Regions from separate parts of the Homo sapiens genome. Here regions 2, 3, 4, 5 and 6 are each linked to region 1. The links are contacts of gene promoters, found by promoter capture Hi-C in blood cells and fetal thymus (Javierre and others, 2016). All regions are on one chromosome and are shown on one strand. The core of a region is centred on a gene start or on the middle of the fragment in contact, and the rest is flanking DNA. Distances in the headings are between cores, read along the strand shown.

Region 1 (3,958 bases), core at 529-3,028:
AATTTATGCCAAAGAAACTTCTGGTGCTCTTCTTACTTGTTTGTGTAAGTAGAAGTCTGGTTCTGCCAACATAAAAGTAAGTGAGACCCAGGTTATGTCATTTCTATCTACAGAAAAAGAAACCTTATACTGGAGGTAACAGAAGGGAGCCTGAAAACTCACCCAGATCTCAGTATCTGTTCTTCAGATTGCAGAACCCCAGTCTGGGCTACTTAGGTACCTTTGCCATCTGGGTCCTCATACCTCTAGCCTATCTGTTGCCAATGTAAGTTGAAAGACTATATGTTTGTGTGTTCGGTGTTTTAGATATATTAATTCCTTTAATCTCCTACCACCTTAGTATGTGAGTAGTATTATCCAAGGTGACAGCGAGTAGATGGTAAAGCTAGATTATAATTATGATCTGATTCTAAGGCCAATACTTCACCAGAAGGCTCTATCTTGAAGTCTGACACGTTTGAGATTAGTTAAAACTAGACTACCAATTTTGGTTTTTTCTTTGTTTTTTGAGACAGAGTCTCACTATCACCCAGGCAGGAGTGCAGTGGCGATATCTTGGCTCACTGCAACCTCTGCCTCCTGGGTTTAAGGGATTCTCCTGCCTCAGCCTTCGGAGTAGCTGGGACTACAGGCGTAAGCCACCACACCCGGCTAATTTTTGTATTTTTAGTAGAGATGGGGTTTCACCATGTTGGCCAGCCTGGTCTCGAACTCCTGACCGCAGGTGATCCGCCTGCCTCGTCCTCCCAAAGTGTTGGGATTACAGGCGTGAGCCAACGCGCCCAGCCTAGACTAGCAATTTCTCAAAGGGTGGTCTGCAGACTCCTGCATCAGAATCACTGGCAGTGTGTGTTAAAAATTCAGATTTCCTGACGGTGTCCATGACCGAAGGAATCAACACCTTCGGCCGGGCGTGGTGGCTCACGCCTGTAATCCCAGCACTTTGGGAGGCCGAGGTGGGCGGAACACCTGAGGTCAGGAGTTCGAGACCAGCCTGGCCAACATGGTGAAACTCCATCTCTACTAAAAATACAAAAATTAGCCAGGCGTGGTGGCGGTCGTCTGTAATCCCAGCTACTCGGGAGGCTGAGGCAGGAGAATCCCTTGAACCTGGGAGGCGGAGGTTGCAGTGAGCCGAGATAGTGCCACTGCACACCAGCCTGGACGGCAGAGCAAGACTCCATCTCAAAAAAAAAAAAAGCACCTCCAAGTGATTCTGTTGCAGGGGATCTGTGGATGATGCAGATTTTTTTTTTGTTTTTAATTTTTTATAGAGAAAGGGTCTCCCTATGTTCCCCAGACTAGTCTCGAACTCCCGGGCTCAAGCGATCCTCCCACTTCGGCCTCCCAAAGTGCCGGGATTACTGGCATGAACCACCACACCTGGCCCAGAATTTCGGATTGTTCTTATGCAGACGAAAGCATTAGGACTCATATCTAGGTTACCGGAATTGTTGAAAGCCAACAGCACACGGCATTAGCCAACTTCAGCCCTGCTCAACAGCCTCTATCCAAATCAGCTCCCGGAGCCGCTTAGCAGCCTGCAGCCGCTGAACAGAACTGAGCACGCGCAATATTTAATCCCCACGGGCGCTGGGTGGGGCTCCCTAGGACCCCGCCCCCTACCAACCTGCGGAGCCAGGGGGCGGGGCTCTCCAAAGTAATTCCGGCTTCTCCCGGCAGCGGCCCAAATCCCCGCCCCCAGCTCTCGGACCAATCAAACGGCAGATTGCTGAAACAAAGGACCAATGCCCAGGGCGGTCCTTAATTCCTCCCTGCAGTTTGAAACTGTCAGGTTGCCGTCTAGGTAGCGGTTGTGCTTGCTGAGGCTGCACTTGCTGACACTGCAGCTGCGACGCGGCTAAGAGGCGCAGAGCGAGGAGTCGGGATTTGGTCGCGAGCGGCGACGGTGGGTAGCAGCGCTCCGGGCAGATCCTGCGTCCCTGCATCCCTGGCGAAAGTAGTGGAGGGAGATTTAAAGTTCCTTGGCGCGTGTTTCCTCCCCCTGGGCTCTTCCCCAGACCGCGAGTGATTCAGCTGTTGTGCCGGAAGGTCCCAAAGTTTCCCCTCCGAGGCGTGCAGGAAGAGGAAGTGAGCAGGAGTGAGGGATGCTGAGCGATTACTGTCATCAGAGGTTCCGGTCACTTAAAACGTTGAGAAAAAATAACCATGTATAAAGCTCTGTTGTGCTTAAGTAAGATTTTTCTTAAAACAGGCTGGGTCGGAAGGTGATGGAAGAAAACTTATGGCCTTTTGCTTACTGCAATGGCTTTTCTCCTCTGCTTCTAGTCCCTGCTTTGGGGAGGGGCTGGCGCGCCCCTTTCCTTGAGTGCAGCTAGGCCTGGTGAAAGGCACAGGCGACATCACCCTGCTGCTAGTTTGCATGTTAATTCGCTCTTCCTTTGCCTCTTGGGGGTTCCATTTGAATTCCCAGACCCCTGTTTTGCTGTCAGCCAGATAATTACCAAGATGTTATTTTATGTTTCTGGCAACAGAGAAGCACACAAAAGTTTTGATCTTGTTTTCTGATACCTTGGATTAGAGACTACTGAAAATGTAGTGAACTAATGTGCGTCCGCCACCCATTAAAGCAGTTTTCATTTTTCTCCTTTGTTTCTGAACCTAGAAACAGTAAGGAAAATGCTACTGTTCTAGAGTTTCAAATAACTCATACCTTGTTGACATAAAGCAGGGCAGATGGAAGATAGCATATTTTCCAAGAGTGCGGTGGGTTTTTTTGTGTCTGCAGTGTGTCCATATTAAGAAACAATTTTTGAGATCTGACCATACTTACTAGCTCATTTTTAAATAATCAGCACCCCCCCCCCCCCACCCCTGTTACCTGCCTGGTCTCAAATCCTGAAGGAAGAAGTGAATAAAAATATAAATGGACCAAGTTATCACAGTGGTAGATTTGAAGTCAGTGAAGCAGCCATTCCTTGCTGCAGATACATGCACTTATTTTATCCTCCCTAATTGGCTTAACTAAAGACAGTCATGCTGAGATTTAGTTTACTTAACATGTGTATGCACAGTGATACTCACTGGAAAAAGTTGAACTTTCCTTTCCACAATTTAGTTCCAGCCTGTGTTTCCATTCTATTTTTGCACTTTTCCCTGTATCTTCCTTTTCTATTTCAATTTCCTCATCTCTCATTTATTTTTCAGCCCACTGTGACTAAGACCTGTAATTGTTTTACTTTCCAGTGAAATTGTTCAAGCAAACGTCTCAGCAACCTCCTAATCTCCAAATTCTATCCAATCCTCATGGTTCTTTGGCATCTAATTCTATTTTCTTCTCAAAGTTGTGATATTGCTTCCATAGTTCTAATGTTCTGACTTCCTTTGCTGACTCCTCTTCTTTGCTGACTGTTCTTCTCTTGCCCTTTAGATGTTAGTGGTTCTGGCTTTAACCCTCTTCTCATTCACAGTCGTAGTCCTTAACTCTATTAGGGCTATGGTCCCCTCTGAACGCATATTTAAAGCGAAAGATCTTCTTTCTAGAAAAATACACATTCACATTTATGATAAAAATATTGCATACGAGTCGGGTATAGGGACCTGATATGGTTAGGTCTTGTGTCCCCACTCAAATCCCATCTTCAATTGTAATCTCCACATGTAGGGGAAGGGAAGTGATTGGATTATAAGGGCGATTTCCCCCGTGCTGTTCTCATGATAGTGAATTCTCACGAGATCTGATGGTTTTATAAATGGTAGTTTTTCCTGCACTCTCTCACATACTGTCTCACCTGCCGCCATCTAAGATGTGCCTGCTTCCCCTTCTACCATGATTTTAAGTTTCCTGAGGCCTCCCCAGACATGCGGAACTGTGAGTCAATAAAAATTCTTTTATTTATAAATTACCCAGTTTTGGGCAGTTCTTTTTTTTTTTTTTTTTTTTTGAGACGGAGTCTCACTCTGTCGCCCAGGCTGGAGTGCAGCGGCGCGATCTTGG
Region 2 (3,883 bases), core at 1,266-3,765, 860 kb before region 1:
CATATATCAAAAAATCTCATTTACTAAAAAATTAAAAAAAATATTGTATAGTTTCTGTTTGGCCTCAATTTTCAACTTTTTTTCTTTTTTTTTAAATCATTGATGTTGAGGTTTAAACTGTTAGCTTTGGAAAGATCACTTTTCATGGTATGGGCGTTTTACACCTAATCTCTGTGTGGGAGGTGCTTCCCAGCTGATTACTCAAACGGGCAAATGTTTATCAGGAAACTGTGTTTACCCAGTATTCCCATGCTGAAAAGAAACAGCAATAGCAAACTTCCTTCCCAAGCATTTAAATTCAAATGAGGCTGCTTATTACCTGAAGTATATAGGAAATCAAGTCTTAATCTAAAAAACAAAAAAGCCCATCGAATAGAAAAAGTGCCAATCTCATGTAGCTCTTCAACAGTTAATTTATTAAGCACCGTTTGGTACCTAACAGCCAAGTCAAAGGGCTGAGAGCATTCCAAAGGAAGTCATGGAATTAATGTCACCTTTGCTTCTCATGTCTAAGAGAGCACTTTTTGTGAGGTAGCAAGCCTCCTACCACACCAAAAGCTACAGCACACCTGTGCAGCTGAGTGAGGCCAGCAACGGAGGGGTTGCCCAGAGGTAGCTACCGACTCATTGACCCATGTGCTCCTACTTGTACAAATAATATCACTTAAAGTCCAGGAAGCAATAAAGAAAGTTTTAAAAAATACCATTTAGTGTATATCATGAAAGTAGTATATAGTAGTAGTAGTAGTAGTAGTTGTTATCTACTGAACCAAATTTTTCCATCTTAGTCACATACATTACTGCCAATATCACATGGCATTAGTTTTTTCTACCACTTTCAAGATAAAACTAGTGGTATTAGTTTTTTCTATACTTTCAGGATATACACTAAAAGGTACTATCGTAATGAAATGCAAACTTAAAAGGCAGGAGCTAAATTTATTTCAGCTTTCTTGGATCACATTATGTGTAGCTCATTTTGTACTATAACATGTGGAATGAATGTTTGTATATCAAAGCCTCATGGTAGAGCAGAAAGACCACAGGACTAGAATCCAGAAGCGCTGAATCCTGGTCCCAAAACTGGTAAAACCTCAGTGTGTGACTAAGAGCAAGTCACGTAACCCAAGCTTTCAGTTCCCTTATCTGTGAAATGAATGACTTAGACTACAATAACTTCCCAAGGCCCTTCCCCTTCTCAAGTTCCATGATTCTTCATTTAAAACATGTTAAATATAATAGCTGAGAGGCCTGTGCTGAAGTTCAAGTCTGATACCAGTGTTCTTTTAATTTTCTTAGAAGTAGGGAAATAATTGACTTCTTTTGAAGCCATTGGCTGGCTGAATTCATAATAGCACAGGTTCAGTTCTCACATATCCTGGTTTTTACTAACTGTGTGACCTTCGGCAGCCTCTCTGTGCCTCAACTGCCTTGGTGATAAAATGGGAGTAATAATAGTGACCACTGCACAGATATGTTATGAAGATAAAATGAGATTATACCAGTACAGTATTTTGTGCAGTGCCAGGCACATAGTTAAAAGCTCCATTTGTGTTAACCTTTGTTCTTACTATTCTTTGTTAAATAAATGTGTCCTTTGTATACAAACACTTATTGATAACCTATCAAAGTGGTTTTCTTACTTTTTCCAATGCCAAGAATCTCTATTTCACCACAGACTCCATGTTTGAAATAGTTTTATTTACTGAACCAAATTTTTCCATCTTAGTCACATATATCACTGCCAATATCATATCAAAATCCAGGGTTCTATACCTAATTTTCAGCCCCAAACCAAAGGAATCCTGAGGTAGCCTTATCATAGAGAAATTAGTTCAATTAAACCTCCTGAAGAGTTAAATATACAAACTCCAGAGACTTTAACTTGGAATCAATAGCACGTAAGCTGTATGAAGTAACAAGATGTGGTTCATAGTCTCTTAAGAGCTCAGAATTTAGGAAGACAGAAAGGCATAACCACCATACTAATTTAGGACAGAAAGAGGAGGAAAGGGAAAGGAATGGTTCAGAGCACAGAGAGAATTCTGAGCAAGGAAGGACTTGAAAGAAATAAGCAGGTGCAACTGCCTCCCTCACCTTACTTCCAAATACTGCCATCTCCAGATATCCCTTCTGAGAACCTAGGATTAGAGCCTGTCCTTTGAGCTAAGAAACTGTCTTTGGAAATCTTATTTATAAATGCAAATATGTTCACTGTTAGAGATATAATCAATCTGATATAAGGGTTCAATCAGTTTCTTAGGGAAGGAAAAGGTTCTAAGGGAACAGAGTGTTAAGACAAGGAAAGTTATGCATTAATGCCTGAGGAGCAGGTTCAAAGGCCACCTGGTAAGCAAGACAGCCACCTGGCTGTGTGGGAGCTGGCTAGACAAACTCTACTCCACAAAGCTCCCAGAGTACCTGGACGGCTGGTGAACCAGAAGTGGGTCTGCCAGAGCCATGGCATCACCATTGCACCTGAAAACATGGCTGCTGCGACACAGCTACAGTATCAGCAGCGGGAAGAGTAATCCTATCACAGAGGAGAGGCAGACATAGCTTCCGTTTGTGGCTGCCCATGTAGAAGAATCTCAATGGTCAAATGAACTAGACAGCAAGAAAAGCAGAATCCAGTAAGCTAATAAGGTTAAACTTGAAAAATTAATATAAACACATGACTTTTAAGAGGAATCCCTAGAGAGTGGTGGTTCCACATCTCAAAGCAGAAATAATCAGGATAGGACTGGAACATCCTGTTGTGACCACGAGCAAGGATATTTCAAAGAATGTCAGGGACGGTGCTAGAAGGACAAGGAAGTGGGCCAGAAAGAGCTCAGACTGACCAAGCTGAAACAATCTGGTTCATCAAAAAGAAAGAGATATTAATCTTGGTTAAGTCTGAGAAAGGCCACAGGTTCAAAACAATAATCAAGAGAATAATATACAGTGTCCAAAAAGGAAGTTGTAATAAAAAAAAGAGATAAATAGCGAATGTGTATTTATATTGACTTTAACAAGTTGGGGAGCATTATTAAAACACAAGTACTTTGTTTCTTCTATATCTGTTTTTTGTTTGTTTGTTTTGTTTTGTTTTGTTTTGTTCTTTGAGACGGAGTCTCGCTCTGTTGCCCAGGCTGGAGTGCAGTGGCGCGATCTTGGCTTATTGTGATCTCCGCCTCCTGGGTCTATTCTCCTGCCTCAGCCTCCCGAGTAGCTGGGACTACAGGCGTGTGCCACCATGCTTTTTTTTTTTTCTTTTAATTGAGATGGAGTCTCCCTCTGTTGCCCAGGCTAGAGTGCAGTGGCACAGTCTCAGCTCACTGCAACCTCCGCCTCCCAGGTTCAAGCGATTCTCCTGCCTCAGCCTCCCGAGTAGCTGTGATTATAGGCACCTGCCACCACACCTGGCTAATTTTTGTATTTTTGGTAGAGATGAGGTTTCACCATCATGGCCAGGCTGATCTTAAACTCCTGACCTCACATGATCTGCCTGCCTCAGCCTCCCAAAGTGCTGGGATTACAGGCATGAGCCACAACACCTGGCCTATATTTGTTTATATATAGATATTTTTATACTATTTATACTACATGAAAGAATAAAGACCAAGAACTTTGAGTAAACTAAATAGTCCCAGAAAACAAAGGAAGTGCCCCAAGATAAGGAAGAACCAAGGAGCATAGGTGGTGACAGAAACACCGGGTAGAAAGAGGGTCCAGCACTGGTGGTCACATCCACTAACTAAGTGGAGGCAGGACTAGAAACATGATCTGAGATGATAAATCAGCCCAAAAGCCTAAGGATCACTGGGTACAGTCAATCCCTTGTCTCCCAGGGGATGAAAACCTCTAGAAAGCCCAACTAATTAAAAAAAAAATATTTAAA
Region 3 (3,887 bases), core at 316-2,815, 830 kb before region 1:
TGGTGGAGACGGGGTTTCGCCGTGTTGGCTGGGCTGGTCTCCAGCTCTGGACCGCGAGTGATCTGCCTGCCTCGGCCTCCCGAGGTGCCGGGATTGCAGACGGAGTCTCGCTCACTCAGTGCTCAATGTTGCCCAGGCTGGAGTGCAGTGACGTGATCTCGGCTCGCTACAACCTCCACCTCCCAGCCGCCTGCCTTGGCCTCCCAAAGTGCCGAGATTGCAGCCTCTGCCCGGCCGCCACCCTGTCTGGGAAGTGAGGAGTGTCTCTGCCTGGCCGCCCATCATCTGGGATGTGAGGAGCCCCTCTGCCCGGCCGCCCAGTCTGGGAAGTGAGGAGTGCCTCTTCCCAGCTGCCATCCCATCTAGGAAGTGAGGAGCATCTCTGCCCGGCCGCCCATCATCTGAGATGTGGGGAGCGCCTCTGCCCCGCCGCCCCGTCTGGGATGTGAGGGATGTGAGGATTGCCTCTGCCCGGCCCCGACCCCGTCTGGGAGGTGAGGAGCGTCTCTGCCCGACCGCCACCCCGTCTGGGAGGTGAGGAGCGTCTCTGCCCGGCCGCCCCATCTGAGAAGTGAGGAGCCCCTCCGCCCCGCAGCCGCCCCGTCTGGGAAGTGAGGAGCCCCTCCGCCCGGCAGCCACCCCGTCCGGGAAGTGAGGAGCCTCTCTGCCCGGCCAGCCACCCCCGTCCGGGAGGGAGGTGGGGGGCAGCCCCCGCCCGGCCAGTCGCCCCATCCGGGAGGGAGGTGAGGGGCGCCTCTGCCTGGCCGCCCCGTGTGGGAAGTGAGGAGCCCCTCTGCCCGGCCGCCACCCCGTCTAGGAGGTGTACCCAACAGCTCATTGAGAACGGGCCATGATGACGATGGCGGTTTTGTCAAATAGAAAAGGGGGAAATGTGGGGAAAAGAAAGAGAGATCAGATTGTTACTGTGTCTGTGTAGAAAGAAGTAGACATGGGAGACTCCATTTTGTTCTGTACTAAGAAAAATTCTTCTGCCTTGTGATCCTGTTGATCGGTGACCCTACCCCCAACCCCGTGCTCTCTGAAACATGTGCTGTGTCCACTCAGAGTTAAACGGATTAAGGGCGGTGCAAGATGTGCTTTGTTAAACAGATGCTTGAAGGCAGCATGCTCCTTAAGAGTCATCACCACTCCCTAATCTCAAGTACCCAGGGACACAAACACTGCGGAAGGCAGCAGGGTCCTCTGCCTAGGAAAACCAGAGACCCTTGTTCACATGTTTATCTGCTGACCTTCCCTCCACTATTGTCCTATGACCCTGCCAAATCCCCCACTCCGAGAAACACCCAAGAATGATCAATAAATACTGAAAAAAAAAAAAAAAAAATTCTGCCAGCCCAATGGGCCTGGAGGACAGATCATCATGTAAAAAGAATTATTTTCAGGCCTTAAAATTGAACATAATTTGCCCAGCTAGGTTTTGGACTTGCTTTGGACCCATGACCCTTTTTTCTTCCTTCCAAGTTTTCCCTTTTGGAATGGAAATGTCTATCCTAAGCCTGTCCCCATCATTGTATTTTGGAAGCAAATAACTTGTCTGGTTTCACGGGTTCACAGCTGGAGAAGAATTTTTGCCTCAAGATGAATCATATACTTGAGTCTCTCTCACTTTGATGTAGATGATATTTAGATGAGATTTGGGACTTAGAATTGATGCTAGAATGGGTTAAGGCTTAGGTTGTTGAATGCAGGTGAATGTATTTTGCTGTGAGGAGGACATGAATTTTGGGGGTGCAGAGGGCAGAGTGTTATGGTCAGAACTGTGTTCCCCTCCCCAAATTTATATGTTGAAGTCCTAACCCCTAATACCTCAAAATGAGACTGTATTTGAAGACAGGGCCTTTAAAGAGATGGTTAAGTTAAAATGAGGTGATTAGGTGTGGCTACTGTCCTTATAAGAAAAGGTGATCAGGGCACAGAGAGCTCCCAGGGCTGAACGCTCATAGAGGGAAGACAGAAGGACATAGTGAAAGGGCCATCTGCAAAGCCGAGGACAGAGGCCTCAGAAGAAACCAAACACATTGACACCTTGCTCTTGGATTTCCAGCCTCCAAAACTGTGAGAAAGTAAATTTCTGTTGTTTAAGCCTCCCAATCTGTGGTATTTTGTTTATGGCAGCCTGAACAAACTAATACACTAGCTAAAACATCAACTCCCATCATCCTCTAAAATTCCTCACCCAATTTTCTCTTCACTGCATTTATTACTACCTGGCAGACTAGATATAATACTTATTAGTTTGACTGGCTCACTCAGTTAGACTGTGAATTCTACAATAGCAAGGACCTTATCTGTCTTGAGAGGCATCTAACACAATGGTTGAAAGCACACACACACACACACACACACACACTCCAGAGCTCGACGCCTGAGACTGAACCAAAGCTCTGCCACTTACCAGTTACGTGCCCCTTGGGTAACTGAATTAATCTGAGTCTGTTTCCTAATCTACAAAATGGGATAATAATAGAACTGCTTCCAAGGGCTAATAGGAGAAAAGCACTAGAACAGTGCCTGGCATATAGTAGGTACCTTTCATGGTAGCTATTGTAGTTTTTACTGCTCACCACCATATCCCAGACCATGCCCCGCCAATATGATTCACTGTTCACACCTGACCTTCAGCAGTATTTGTTTAGTTCAGCACTGTTTAGCCATACAGACTTCCTTGCGCAGGAAGTATGCCAGCATTTTGACTATCAAACATGCCTTCTTCTCCCATCCCAGTCTGTTGCACCCCCTGAACAAATCCACTCCTCCTGCTAAACACATCCTATTGCCTTACACTAGATACACTCTTAAATGGCATTTAGTAGGGGCTATGTAAATATTTACATATGTTCAGGAGAGCCAGGTTTCTGCTATAATGAGACTCCCACTCTACTGATAATGCCAATGGCAAACAATTGCAGCTCACATTTACTTAGCACATGGACTAGCACTTAGCAGGTACTTGGCACTTATATGAATGTATTCTCACACTAATCTGATGAGATTGATATCACTCCCCTTTAATAGAGAAGGAAGAAGAGGCTCAGAGAGTTAAGTAATTTGCTCAAGATTACACAGCTAGTAAGCGGCTGAGCTGTGATTTAAATTCAGGTTGTCACCTCTGCAGGACACCTCTCTGCCACTCTGCTCTGACAAATCACTTAAGATTAATAGGGTGAACAGGGCTTAAGCTCACTTCCTAGGAATGCTCTCTTCTTAAGCAGAAGCCTTAGGTGAAACCTTTTCTAAAACTAAAATGAGCCAATTCAGATCTTGATAAACTATGCTTTCCCAAAGCCAGGTGTGCCTGTGCTTTAAGACAGATGAAGGTGAACATACTCTTCAGGACTGGCTGAAGAGGCTGTGGTCACTTTCGGAAGTGTCTGTGGGGGTACAGCTGTGTTCACTGGACCTTGGATCTCCAAAAATCTGGCTTCTAACTTGGTTCTGCAACTGTATTCATCTTCATTACTTTGGGGTACAACAATCTCTCTGGGCCACAATTTCCTCTATCAGAAAACTGGGTACAATACTTGCTACCTCACAGAGAAGTCATGAGAATGAAAACAGATGCTAAATGTGAAATCACCCAGGAAAAAAGCACCCAGCATGCAACAGGTCCTCAAGAAACAATTGTTAACAAAATGAAATTAAAAGGAGGTAGGCAAGTGGCCACCAGTTTAAAGCGTAATGCTACCAAGGATTTATCACACTGTTCTCCACAGAGCAGCGTGGCTACACTGATCTGAACATATGAGATCCAATGTCTTCCAGGTGGAGACTACTGTGGGATGTGACACCCTGCAGGAAAATAAGCTGACCAAAGGGCCTTGGAGAACTGAGCTCAAAAATGGGACTCTGCCAACCTGCCTTCCCTA
Region 4 (4,009 bases), core at 309-2,808, 690 kb before region 1:
TTGAACCCAAGAGGCTCTGCTGTCTGTGTGGTTTACCAAAAGGCAAAAAGCTGGGTCTCAGTCAACTGCTGAATGCATTAGAGTACAGAGGCTGTAGTCCTCAGGCCTCCCCCTCACTGCAAGGGTAACACAGGAAAGATAACCTCCCATCTTTGACACGCCAGCGGGGAGGAGGGGAAAGAACCTACACAAGTTGAGGAGCCCTTTTTCAGTTAAGCAAGTCAGTGGCCTTACGCACCATCCAAAACCACACACACACACAAACAAAACACCCTGCTGAAGGTATCACCACCTTAACCCAAACCTGGTACCTCTGCCACCAAGGCCAGCCTGGGCAAAGATTAACCTGTGGTCTTCGGCCTTGGGTTCACTGACAGGGCCACCTTGGAGAGACAGCAGGCCAACTTTCTGTTTGTTTTAAAGGAAATGCTTCCTGGCACATGTTTAGGACTCTGAACTCTGCACATGAAGCCACGTGGTTGGTGTTAATCTGGCTCCATCCACTCACGATCGGCCAAAGCAACCTATTTCCGAGGGCAGCCCCTGGCTGGGTAATCGACACCATCTCGTTCAAGTCACGCGGGCTCCCGCCGGATTCCCCGGAGCCTAGTGCCGCGTCCTCTCCACACAGCAATCCTCCCGCGCGAGGGGAGCGGGGGGGAAAGGGGTTGGGGGGTTTCAGAGGGGAGGGACTTACACCTGTGAGGCCAATGGCTCTAGCGGGTCAGGTGAAGTTCGAGGGCGCGGGACAGGAGGAGACTCCCGCCCTTCCAGTCAAGCCGGCTTTGCACTAGCAGAGTGCGCCGGCGCCCTACTTGCGGTGCCCACCTGTAGCCACAGCAAACAAACTTTCCTCCCCTTCTGGGTTGGAAGAATCCGGTGCCTTACGCCACCCCCTGGCCCAAGCCGGCGGCGACCCGGAGCTCCGCGGACTCCTCACCTGATACCCCTAAAATCCCAACCTGGTCTGTCCCAGAGCGCAATCCCCGCACTGCCCGCGCACCCCGTTTGGGTATGCGGAGTGGAGGGTCTGGGTTGCCAGCTGGATATTAGGAATTGGGGGGCGGGAGGAGCGGGGGGACGCGATTCACTGCCCTTTGCAACTCCAGCTCCCAACTTTGCCAGCCGCGCAGTTGCTGCCTTCCAATTTCCTCTGCGCCGCGCAACCGGCTCCCTCGGCTTCTCCAACGCCGTCCTCGGGGAGGGAGCTCCCCAAGGCCAGCAGGAACCCCGCGCGCCCGGCGCACTTACAGCCATAGCGGGGTCTCTGCAGCGACGGCAGCTCTTCGTGTGGCATCCTGCGCGTCTCCGGGGGCCCGCCCGGGGCGCGCCCCCCGCGGCTACCCTCGCTGGCCAGGCTCGCGGGCTCTGCGCCCCGCCGGCGCGCTCGGATCCCGCCTCTCGCCGATTTCCCCTAGCCGCCCGAAGATCTGCGACCCACTCCCTCGGTGCTCTCTCGCCAGAGCCAGCCACGGCCGCCGCGCGCTGACACTGAAGTAAAAGTGAACTCTCCTCCCTCGCTCCCTGGCCGGTCGCCGCCGCCTCCCGCAGCAGGTTTCCTTTCTCCTCCAGCCAGGCCCCGTTATTCACCGCGGTGGGAGCGCGCGCCGAGACGCAGCGACCCCTACCGCGTGTCGGGCGCAGCGCCCAGGCCGCGTGGACCCGCCCCTTCTCCCCCGGGGGAGAGGGAAGGGGCCGAGAGGGACGCTGGGCCGGGACCCCCTGCAGCTGGGGCCCCCGCACAGCTGGTGGCCTGGGGGTGGCGGCCACCCCGCCTTATTTCTCGCTTCTGGAGAGTTTCGAGGGTGGAAGTGAACCAACGCGGAGAAGTGCAAGAAAAACCGCAGAAGTCACAGGGAGCCCTTCGTGTCCGGGGTGTTGCTCAGTTACTGAGGGACAAACAGCGCGGTTCCTTTTCCTCTGGGGAGATTTCACGTTGACTTTTGTTCTTCTTCTTCGTCTTTTTGGTTTTGTTTTTTTTTGTTTTTTTTTTTTTTTTGCTTCGAAAGTTGCTTCTGTCACTTTTTGTCTACAAAATAACAGGGTTCCCCTTATGACAAGAAACTGAGTGTGTGTGTGCTGGAGGAACAAGATAACCCAAGGCAACCACTCAAAACACAACTGCGAGTCATCCCCCTCCCTCCGATCACCTTGTGCCCGCCCCCGCCCCAGTGTGCAGAGCCTTCTCTCAAGCCCAGCTGGGGTCGCAAGCCACAGAAACCTTTTCCGGCTAAGCTTTTAAGGAAATTAAACTGCATGTGGCTGTTTTGAAATCGGGGTTTTCATGCGGTCGCCAGGAGCTATTTTTCTCTTTGTGTCTCAGCGTGATAAAATCTGGAGGGAATGCGGGACGCTTCCGTACCTGTGCCCTCACCTATTTGACAATTGTGGAATGTGTGGGTGACCCGATAACAGGAAAAACAAACTGAGGGAGGGCGATAAGAAATTATTTAGAGCCGGGCGCGGCGGCTCACGCCTGTAATCCCAGCACTTTGTGAAGCCGAGGCACAAGGATCCCTTGAGCCCAAGAGTTCCAGACCAGCCTGGGCAACATAGCGAGACCCCGTCTCTCCAAAAAATGAAAAAATAATATTAGCCGTATTAGCCGGGCGTGGTGGTTGCGCCTGCAGTCCCAAGCTACTCAGGAAGCTGAGGTGGGAGGATTGCTTGAGCCCGAGAGGACAAGGCTGCTGTGGGTTGTGATTGCACCAGTGCACTCCAGCCTGGGTGAGAGTGCAAGACCCTCGGAGGCGGTGGGGGGATGGAAATTATTTCGCTGAGGAAATGGTGGCATAGTGACACTAATCATTTTTTATTATGCAAGGATACAGAGGATGAGCAGCTGTTTTCCATTTCATATAGGAGACGCAGTCCTTCTCAAACTTGTTGAAACTCACATTCTTGGGCCCCACCCTCAGAATTTCCGACTCAATGGGTCTGGGCTGGTGCTCATGAATTTGCATTTCTAATTTCTAGCATACTGCCAGGTGATGCTGACACTGCAGAGCGTGCTTAGGGTGGCTCTGTGAGTGGTAGATGCTCACAGGGACGTAAACTGTACACAGGGAACTCTCAATTCAGACGGGATAGCAAAATATTTTTTTTTTTTCCCTGATGGCATTAGATTCTCACCTGTTTGGAATGGGATGAATGGAGTTTTCCTTTCTTAAAAAGCAGATGCCTCTCAGTCTAAGAACAATTCAGAGGCGAAATGGCCACATTTGAGGCTCGGCACCCTGTCAATTGATATTCACCCAAAGGAGAAATGTGGAAGGGGATTTTCGTGCATGTCAGGAGATGCTGAATTAAATGATGTCTAAAGTTCATTCCATTTCTGTTGTTGCATTTGTCAAGTGTTAACAATTAAGTATTTACACATAACAATTTTCGTATGAGTGTATGACTTAGAGCCCAAATAAATGAGTAGTCTATATATTTAGAGGTGGGTGAAAAAATCACTCTGAACTAAAATGGTCCAGGAAGGTGACAGGGTTTGAAAGTGTGGCTTGAAGTGGAAGTGTGGTAAAAGCTGGATGGAGAGCATCCAAGGGAAAGAAACAATGAGGTGGAGCACAAGGTTGGGTTGGAGCTGGATTGGTTGGACTGGATTGGAGCTATGAAGTTGTCATCAGGTTGTGGAGGGCCCTGAGTGTCTGGCTAAGAGGACCGGAGATTATCGTAGAAACATTCAAGAGATCTTAAAGGTTTTGAGTATGGAAGCTGCAGAATGCAAGGGAGTTTAGGGAAGGAGAATATTGGAGCAGGTCATAGGATAGGTTGGGATGGGACAACTTGGAGATGTTGACGCCCCGTGGAAGGTGTTTGGACAGAGATTGAAGAGAGAGGTAAGAAGAGCCTCAATGAGGCTGATATCAGTAAGGGAGATGAAGGGGGTGTTTTAATATACTCAAGTTGGTGCCATCAACATGTATAGATATTATACACACTAACAAGTAGATTAAGTAAAGTAAATATCTGTTAATCGTAGAAAGTGAAGGTTAAAGCGTAA
Region 5 (4,382 bases), core at 332-2,831, 540 kb before region 1:
TAATATATAAGATATATGTTAATTAATAAGATTAATAAGTAGGAACATCAAGGAATTTCTTTGCTGAATTCAGTGGCTCTGGAAGTTTACGGCACATCAGAACACCTGTGCAGGTTTCTAAAATCTGCAAATGCCTAGAGTCTGACAACTGGCCTAAACAAAATGGAAATGTGCTTTGATACAGAGGTAGATTAAGCAAAATGAAAGGAAGAAAAAGACTTCAGATGTCTGGAGGCAATTTTCATTCAGCTAGAGGCAGGTAGAAGTTCAAATGCAATTTTAGAAACTTACAACCCCGATCAAGAGGAACTCGTTCATTAAGTCTGTTTAACAAGTTTTTTGGCCTTGTGAGAGCAAAATGAAGATGTAAACTAGACAGTGTTTGTAAGTTTTATGAAGGTCTGTATAAGGAAAATATAATGACATTTTAAAGCGGGGGGCAGATTAAAAGATGATTTGGTAGCAGGCAGGATTCTTGCTGGGAGATGAATTTCCCTGGAAACTGCTCTCTTTCAGAGCTCAATTTGCACAAAGGCAAATCAAAGTGAGTTTTTAAAAGTACCACATAAGCCCTCTGATAGACTGAATTTACAGAAGTAACAAAGGCAGGAAAAAGCTTCTGCAGAAAATTAAGAGTGATGGACACAAGTCACAAAGCTAAAACGTTTAAGGGTTGCTTCATTCTAGGGTGTTCTCAGAAACAGCGGCTTGTGATTAACCCTAGCCAACACTTGAGGGCACCCTGGGTTCACAAGAGACACACAGACGCTGCGCTATTAAAAGCCTCTTCCCTGATGACTTTCACTTGCATGCGTGAGTGGATGTTCCAAGCAATTCAGACTCTGGGGTTGCCCTGAAAGTGTCAAACCTGGGGGCCACAGAAGTGACAGTGATTTTTCTTTCCTCCAGGGCTCGCATTCACTCAATGAGTCTGCATTCTAAGTCAATTGCTGCATTCTTAAATTCAGCCTGGAAAGGTACTCCCCCAGGGGACAGATACAGACTGGAAGGCCAGCCCCACCCTCTAGCTCTGAGGGCCAGAGACTCAGGCAGAGCAGGCAAAGCACAAAGTGGCCTTGGTGAAAGTCTTAAGAACCCAAGGGTCAAGCATGTGCCCTTGAGAGCAAGGGCTGCAGAGAAGAAATGTTTAATGGGGCATTTTTTGCCTTGCATTTCATAAAAACAACCTAGCACATATTTTGCATTCTGTCCCCTTTATTGATTTTTAAAAAGGCATCAGGCAAACTGGCCTGACACTGTATTTCCTTTCTATGGAGATTGTAAGAATCTGAGCCCTCTTCCCCCAGAAGGGCTGAGATGGGAGCCAAGTTGAAGGAAGAGGCAGGAAGAACTGGGCATTTGGTGGGAGGTGGCTGCGGAGATGAGAGTCTCAGGTGAGGCAGTCCCTCCTCCAGTGGCCCAGTGGCTCAGCAGAACCTGAGGGGTGAGGGGGGCGCATAAGGTGGCCAGGCGTGACCACTCTGATAACGATTTCACCAGGTGAGGGGCTTGGCTTTCACAGGCACGGTGCTGACATGTAAGGGTTACTTGATGGCAACCCACGGACTGGGATTTGGTAGGGAAAATCTAATAGAGCAAAGGGATGCCTGGCTAGACAGACAGAGATCCAAGCTAGGACAGTGGGGCCAAAGGACCACTCTAGGGCCACAGTTAAGAAGGAAATGTGATACATTCCTGAAGGACTAGTGAGAAAAGGACTCTAGAACCAGGGACAAAGGAAAGGGACAACCATGGACATTCTGGGGTGGAGGAAGACAGGGTCCCTGCATGGGAGGCTTGGGTGACATGGGAAGATGGTCTCCAGACCGGCTGATCCTGTCTCCAAACCACGTGCTATCATTATAACCAGAATGCGTTTGTGAATTCCAGTCTGGGAAAACAGACAGATTCAAAAGAGTGAGCTAGAAACATATACTTTATGATTTTGATAATGCTTTATGGTTTTAAAAATCCCTGGCAGGAAAATAAATTTATCTGCAAAACAATCTTTGGCTACCTTGATGTATTAGAAATTACTGGAGAGATCCACAGAGCTTTTTAATGATATTAAGAGTGATCATTAATATTATATGAATAACTGTTCTTCTTTCCATAGGACAGAATAATAGGGAAAAGCTCAAAATCTTAGGTTAACAGAGTATTTCCTGACAGTGAGTATTAAAAAATGTAGACAAAGTAAAATCCATTTGGGGGTGGGGTGGAGAGAGGATTTATAAAAAATAAATATAAATCAACACTTAGAGTCTCATTTGTACCAGGAAAAGGGGTGGACCCCAGCCAATATGCCTGTCTCAGATGCTTTTGATCATTTTCTTCTACCCTCAGATAGCAATGTGATTGTTTCTTGGTTACAATAATAATACATGTCTATGTGGCAAGCAATACAGAAAATAAAAGAAGTAAATAACTCCAAGTTTCATCACTCAGAGATAAACATAATTAACATTTTGGATTTAGTACAATTATTAGTATTTAATTAAGCCATGAGAAGATTTAGTGACAGTCTTGGGGAAAGTAGAAGCTTCATTCATTAAGATTTTTGAAATCTGAATTATGGTTCAGAACACATCAGAGGCAGTCTGTGTATTTATTTCACATTGAATGTTTGGGCATATCTATGTCAGATGTTACCTTCCATGCCTGGAAATTTCCATGGAAAATAGGCAGTTCATAAGGGCTAAAAGAGTGAGATCAAGTGAGTGACACCATTGTAAAGCTAAACATGGAGGTTTGAGTAATGTTTGCCTTCTGTCTCACTCCAGCTGGGGCTCTCAGAACCACTTCCACCGACACTCTCAAGGAATAGATGGAAAAGTAGGGATGCAAATAATGCTGTTATTATGCCACATTGGCTGGCTGGATGTGTAGATGCATTACATTTATTTTTAAATTTTTAATATCTCTCTCTCTCTCTCTATATATATATATATATACACACACACATATATATACACACACATATATATACACACATATATATATACACACACACATATATATACACACACACACATATATATATATATATAATAACACATATATTTAATAATAGAGACAGGGAGGTGGTTTCTCCCTATGTTGCCCAGGCTGGTCTCAAACTCCTGGCCTCAAGCAATGCTCCTGCCTTGGCCTCTGAAAGTGCTTGGATTACAGGTGTGAGCTCCTGCACCCAGACAATGCATTACATTTCTACCTTCTGCCAAGTCTAATGAGGGAAGCAGTTCAAGTTTTTGAAACTCAGTGAGAATAGTCTGCAGCAGAATCTTTAAAAACTTATGATAGGGAGAAAATTGAACTAGTTTTTCTTCTCATAATACATGGAGATAATCGTTTCTAAGTTAAATTATGCCTGTAGGTAAAGCTAAAAGATTTTGACTCGGTGATATTAAATAACTAAGAAACATTGATTTCACAAAGATAAAATCTTCGTAGTAAGGAAAGGTGAGATTTTTTTTTTTTTTTTTTCCTTAGGGAGGAGAGGTGGTGGGGAAGGGAATAGAACTGTCCCAGAAACGGCTGGATGTGTTGAGTAATTAGAGGTGAGTAATATGGAACCACACTTTATGCTCATCTAATCCCAGAGAATTCTGAGAAACCATTTCCCTCCCATCCTAAATGGTAAAATTTCTGGCATATTGCAAATAACAGCATCTTTAAATAAAACCATGTCATTAATCTTTAAAATGTAGCCAATGGAATCTAAGTACCATAGCAATTTTGAACCTGTCACTGGCCACTTGAAAACCCCACAGACTAGTTTTGATCCAAAGGAGATTTTCGCTTGAGCCCGGGAGACCGAGGTTGCAGTGAACCAAGATCATGCCACTGCACTCCAGCCTGGGCGACAGAGTGAGATCTCGTCTCAAAAAAACCAAAAAGCAAAAAACATAAAAAAACAAAAATCAACCCACAAAAGGAGATTTTATGTTTCTTCTTTCTCTTTGACCTTGAATTTCCATTCCACTATCTGCACAGAATTCTAACCTAATGCAGTACATTTTTAGGCATGAATCATGCTTTTTCTGATTTTATTGATCAACCTGTTATAATTCTCTGCAACAAACACATGTATCTAAATTTAAAAGGTAAGAGTCCTGTGACCACAAGCTCTTTAAGTGATAAAACTCTATCGATTGAGCCATTATTGCAGTTATTATTACACAATTGATCAATATAACAATATGTATTACACAATTTTTGATAATTTTTAAACTAAAAAATAAAGTTGTATTGGATATTTATCTTTTAATAACATGAAGTGGAGGGTTTTTTCCCCAATTGGCTCATGTATCCATGGATGAATATTACTTGTTGATAGAATGAGACAGAGTTTGTCATTAATTCTTACTCATATAATAGAT
Region 6 (4,037 bases), core at 439-2,938, 950 kb after region 1:
ACCATTAAGTTTATTCACATGATGTAAGTTAAATTTTGGTCTTGAATGATATGAGGCATCAGGGCTTACATCTCTAATAATCTCATTAGGGAATGGTCCAAAATCTACTGGACCACAAAAGGGATGAACTGATTACAGTATCTTTTTTCCTTGACATAATTTGCTTTTTTAATAACACCTTCATTTCACATTTAAAAAATTTAAGTCAGTTTTATTGAAGCATAATTTACACACAGTAAAACCTGTCCTTTTTAGGTATACAGTTCTAAGTTTTTCCTAACTACACAGTTCTGTAACCACCACAATCAAAATACAAAGAATTTCCATTTCCCCCTAAAATTCCCTATGTAACTTTTAAGTCAATCCTCTTTCCCAACCCTCAGTTTGATACCTATCCCTACAGTTTTGCCTTTCCCAGAATGAAACAGGGATCAACAGTAGTACATAGCCTTTTGAATCTGGTTTCTTGCTTTTGGGATTCACCCAATTTGCTGCAGGTATAGGAACTTCAATCCTTTTTATTGTTGAGTAGTATGCTATTGTATGGATACACCACTGTTTACCCGCTGACCAGATGATAGGTATCAGGGTTGTTCCCAGTTTTGGGTGATTACGAATAAATCTGCAATAAACAACTGCATGCAAGTCTTCATGTGGACGTGTGTTTACTGCCAGACCGTTTTCCAAAAGTGCATTATTTTTCTTTTCACCAGCAATGTATGGGATGCTTTTTGCATTTTAGACACGTTTTAAACACGCGGCCAGGCGTGAGTCTATTCGTATTTTAAGGCTGCAAAAATAAAAATGATACAAAGCCAAGTCCAGCACAGAGAGCAATGTTAAGTAACAACCAACAAGGTGTGCTGCTACCAACTGCTATCACATAAACTTTGCAGCAATCACATGAAGGGTGTATGGAATGCCATTTTGCAAAGAAACGCAGATTATAGAGACGTAACACAAAGAGAAAGGACCTGGCAGTTAGATCTGGGCCGTTAAGCCCGGCTTCGCAATTCATTAGCTGTCTGGTCTTTGGCAAGGACGCCTTCAGTTTCCTCAGCAGTAAAATGAAGGGGGCGGGACTGACATCTAAGACTGTACAAGGGACAACCATATTCCCATTAGGCTCTGGGGCTGATAACCACGCTTGTGGTGAAATCAGGAATTTTTAGGACTCTTAGCGGTGGATCAAAAAGAAAAAAGAAAACAGGACAGAGTAAAATCTTGCTCCAAAGCTTGTGTTCTGGCAAATACCGTCTGTGTCTCGAATGTGAAGTTGTTTCCACTCCTCAGAGCCCACCCCACGGGTCTACCATCCTTTTCTCTTGGCAGTTCTCATTTCCGCCTACCACCGCTCACCCCCTACCCCAGCGCCCCAGAGTCCTCAGGTCCCACTAACTCAGACGCTGTGTGTCGCGAGCGTCCGAGGCATCCTCCTTACCATGGTGACGGCCGCAGAGCCGCCAGGAGCAGCCGCTGGAGTGCGAAAACGCTCTCAATTTTCGGGTCTCAAAGACCCACAAGCCCACACCACGCAGGCCGGGACAGGAAAGAGTCACCCTTTAAAACGGCCGAGTGAAGAGCAAGAACCACGCAGCGGTTCCGAGCCTCTGTTTTCCGCTTTTAGCTAGGAGGACGGAAGTTGCTGGCAGGCGGCATTTGGCCGGTACACCGCCGGAAGTGTGGAGGTGTGGCTGCCCGAGGCGGTAGAGCGGAGAAAGCCTATTTTCTTTTCGTTTAGATACATTGCCTTTTGCCTAGGCTGGCGTCGAGACTTGAGGCCGTTGCAGACTTTGGCGCGGCTCGCGCCTCCTGCTTCAAGAGCCCAGCGGTGAGAGCTGGCCTGCGGCACGCGGCCTAATGCCAGGTGAGTACTGCTCCGAGCTGTGAGACATCGCGCGCCTGTGACCCTGTCACAGCGCTGGGTACCGCTGACCTTTCAGGCTGCGACGGACACAGCCAGCCACGGAAGAGGACAACAGGGCCTCCGGACTCCCCTCGGTGTTCGCTCAGTATGGAAGTTTTTCTCTATCATTCGGCGAAGTCGACTCATCTTTGTTCCGGTCACTCTGTGTAATGTGTGCATGATTGTGAAGGATACTGAGGAATGAAAACTTAGTGTACAGAAAAATGGAACTACTGGGGCTTTGCAGCTGTTAGAAAAGAAGAAGATAACATTCTGGTTTTTTGGAGGTACAGGACTGATTCCAGAAATTTCTGAGGCATTTTGGTGCACCGAATCAAATGCTGAGTGGACTTGTATTTAGTGGCCCCCTAGTGTCAAGAAGTAATTAACTACCAGAAAGTACGTCTACTTAAATACACTATCAGGTTTACCCTTTTACTGCACAGTTGCAGAAGTTCCCTTAATTACTTCACAGCTTGCAGCGTGATTCAGTTGATGAACAAAAAGAACTGTACCAAAAGAATACTTTCATTAATTCTTAGTGCTTGTATTTGAGGCAGTATTTTGTTTTTGTTTTTGTTTTTATGGGTATTTTGAGACGGCATCTCGCCCAGTCGCCCAGGCTGGAGTGCAGGGGCACGAGCTCGGCTCACCGCAGCCTCGACCTCCCGGGATCAAGCGATCCTCCGACCTCAGCCTCAAAAGTAGCGAGCTACAGGCTCGCGCCACGAAGCCTGGCTGATTTTTGTAGTTTTTGTAGAGATGAGGTTTCACCGTGTTGCCCAGGCTGGTCTCGAACTCCCGGGTACGAGCGATCCACCCGCCTCGGCCTCCCAAAGTGTTGGGATTACAGGCTTGAGCCACAGCGCCCGGCTTTGAGGCAGTTTTTGTTTTGTTTTGAGACGGAGTTTCAATCTTGTCGCACAGGCTGGAGTGCAAATGCGCCATCTCGTCTCACTGCAACCTCTGCCTCCCGGGTTCAAGCGATTCTCCAGGTTCAGCCTCCCAAGTAGCTGGAATTATAGGCGCTCGCCACCACACCCAGCTAATATTTTTGTATTTTTAGTAGAGATGGGGTTTCACCATGTTGGTCGGGCTGGTTTCGAACTCCTGACTTCAGGTGATCCACCTGCCTCGGCCTCCCAAAGTGCTGGAATTACAGGCGTGAGCCACCGAGCCCCGCCTTTGAAGCAGTTTTTTAAGGCTCCATTTTCTAAGGTGATCTCATCATTCTCTTTAAAACCAGAAATAGTAACTAGCATTTGTATATTTTAGGTACAGTACGTTATATAATCTCTTTGCCTTTAATGCGCCCCTCCCCGCCGTCCCTCAATCCCCCGAATTTCCTCCCTCATCTACTTCAGGTCTTTGCTTAAATGTCACTGTTTGAATGAGGCCTTCCTTGATCTCTTTACTTACAGTTCTAACTGTCCCAATTCCTCCTTCCTGCTTCATTCTTCTCTACAGCACCCTATCATCATGGGAGAGACTATGTATTGTATTCGTTACTTTTGTTTGTTGTCTGTATCCCCTGACTACGGTAGAGGCAGTATGAGGGCAGAGATTGTTGTCTTTTGTTCACTGCATTAACGCTGATATCTAGAAAGCAGTGGGTAGGCAGACACACAGTAAATTCTTGTTGAATAAATGGGAACGAATAGGCTTGGGCGGGGGAGGGCTGGGTTGTGCAAATTATCTTTTTATTGACAACCACTGAGTTAAAGAAGAGGAAAATGTCTATTACAGTCACAACTGTGGAGAGACTATGAGGCCCTGAACTTTGGCGTTACCAATGAAAAGGGAATGGATTCAAGGCCAGGCATGGTGGCTCACGCCTGTAATCCCAGCACTTTGGGAGGCCGAGGTGGGTAGATCACTTGAGGTCAGGAGTTCACGACCAGTCTGGCTAACATGGCGAAACCCCGTCTCTACTAAAAATACAAAAAGTAGCCAAGTGTGGTGGCACATGCCTGTAGTTCCAGCTACTCGGGAGGCTGAGGCAGGAGAATCGCTTGAACCCAGGAGGCAGAGGTTGCAGGGAGCTGAGATCAAGCCACTGCACTCCAGGCTTGGTGACAGGGCAAGACCCTGTCTCAAAAAAAAAAAAAAAAAAAAAAAAACAACAAAGGGA

What was found. The method cuts DNA at HindIII sites, captures the fragments that hold promoters and counts their contacts. A CHiCAGO score of 5 or more calls a contact.
Region 2: a contact is called between a fragment that was not itself captured here and the fragment with the promoter of POC5 in region 1, in 1 of 17 cell types (naive B cells). The highest score is 5.2, in naive B cells.
Region 3: a contact is called between a fragment that was not itself captured here and the fragment with the promoter of POC5 in region 1, in 2 of 17 cell types (naive CD4 T cells and total CD4 T cells). The highest score is 7.9, in naive CD4 T cells.
Region 4: the fragment with the promoter of IQGAP2 here is called in contact with the fragment with the promoter of POC5 in region 1 in 2 of 17 cell types (naive B cells and naive CD8 T cells); the score reaches 7.3 in naive B cells.
Region 5: a fragment that was not itself captured here is called in contact with the fragment with the promoter of POC5 in region 1 in 10 of 17 cell types (M1 macrophages, M2 macrophages, M0 macrophages and 7 more); the score reaches 10.7 in M1 macrophages.
Region 6: the fragment with the promoter of GFM2 here is called in contact with the fragment with the promoter of POC5 in region 1 in 14 of 17 cell types (total B cells, non-activated CD4 T cells, activated CD4 T cells and 11 more); the score reaches 28.5 in total B cells.

Annotation. Positions count from the first base shown.
Region 1 is chr5:75,715,257-75,719,214 of GRCh38, reverse strand. It overlaps POC5 (POC5 centriolar protein), which reads left to right and starts at 1,778. Exons shown (of 12, transcript NM_001099271.2): 1 at 1,778-1,909. LOC441087 (a long non-coding RNA gene) reads right to left here and starts at 1,783. Exons shown (of 3, transcript NR_149046.1): 1 at 1,631-1,783. RefSeq lists an enhancer at 2,073-2,382. The HindIII fragment of the contact is 9,196 bases long and covers 1-3,958 here.
Region 2 is chr5:76,579,656-76,583,538 of GRCh38, reverse strand. The region is part of intron 5 of IQGAP2 (IQ motif containing GTPase activating protein 2); the gene reads right to left. Among named protein-coding and RNA genes, the nearest start is that of F2RL2, 42 kb to the left of the region's middle. RefSeq lists an enhancer at 1,223-1,312. The HindIII fragment of the contact is 2,766 bases long and covers 1,133-3,883 here.
Region 3 is chr5:76,547,805-76,551,691 of GRCh38, reverse strand. The region is part of intron 2 of IQGAP2 (IQ motif containing GTPase activating protein 2); the gene reads right to left. Among named protein-coding and RNA genes, the nearest start is that of F2RL2, 74 kb to the left of the region's middle. RefSeq lists an enhancer at 3,833-3,887. The HindIII fragment of the contact is 5,305 bases long and covers 1-3,887 here.
Region 4 is chr5:76,400,834-76,404,842 of GRCh38, reverse strand. IQGAP2 (IQ motif containing GTPase activating protein 2) reads right to left here and starts at 1,558. Exons shown (of 36, transcript NM_006633.5): 1 at 1,252-1,558. The coding sequence starts at 1,297. RefSeq lists silencers at 1,247-1,356, 1,527-1,876 and an enhancer at 1,093-1,593. The HindIII fragment of the contact is 5,105 bases long and covers 1-2,237 here.
Region 5 is chr5:76,252,813-76,257,194 of GRCh38, reverse strand. All of the region lies in intron 4 of SV2C (synaptic vesicle glycoprotein 2C), which reads right to left. Among named protein-coding and RNA genes, the nearest start is that of SV2C-AS2, 57 kb to the left of the region's middle. The HindIII fragment of the contact is 1,926 bases long and covers 619-2,544 here.
Region 6 is chr5:74,764,768-74,768,804 of GRCh38, reverse strand. It overlaps GFM2 (GTP dependent ribosome recycling factor mitochondrial 2), which reads left to right and starts at 1,688. Exons shown (of 21, transcript NM_032380.5): 1 at 1,688-1,867. It overlaps NSA2 (NSA2 ribosome biogenesis factor), which reads right to left and starts at 1,556. Exons shown (of 6, transcript NM_014886.6): 1 at 1,442-1,556. The coding sequence starts at 1,444. RefSeq lists an enhancer at 1,536-1,975. The HindIII fragment of the contact is 3,173 bases long and covers 1,238-4,037 here.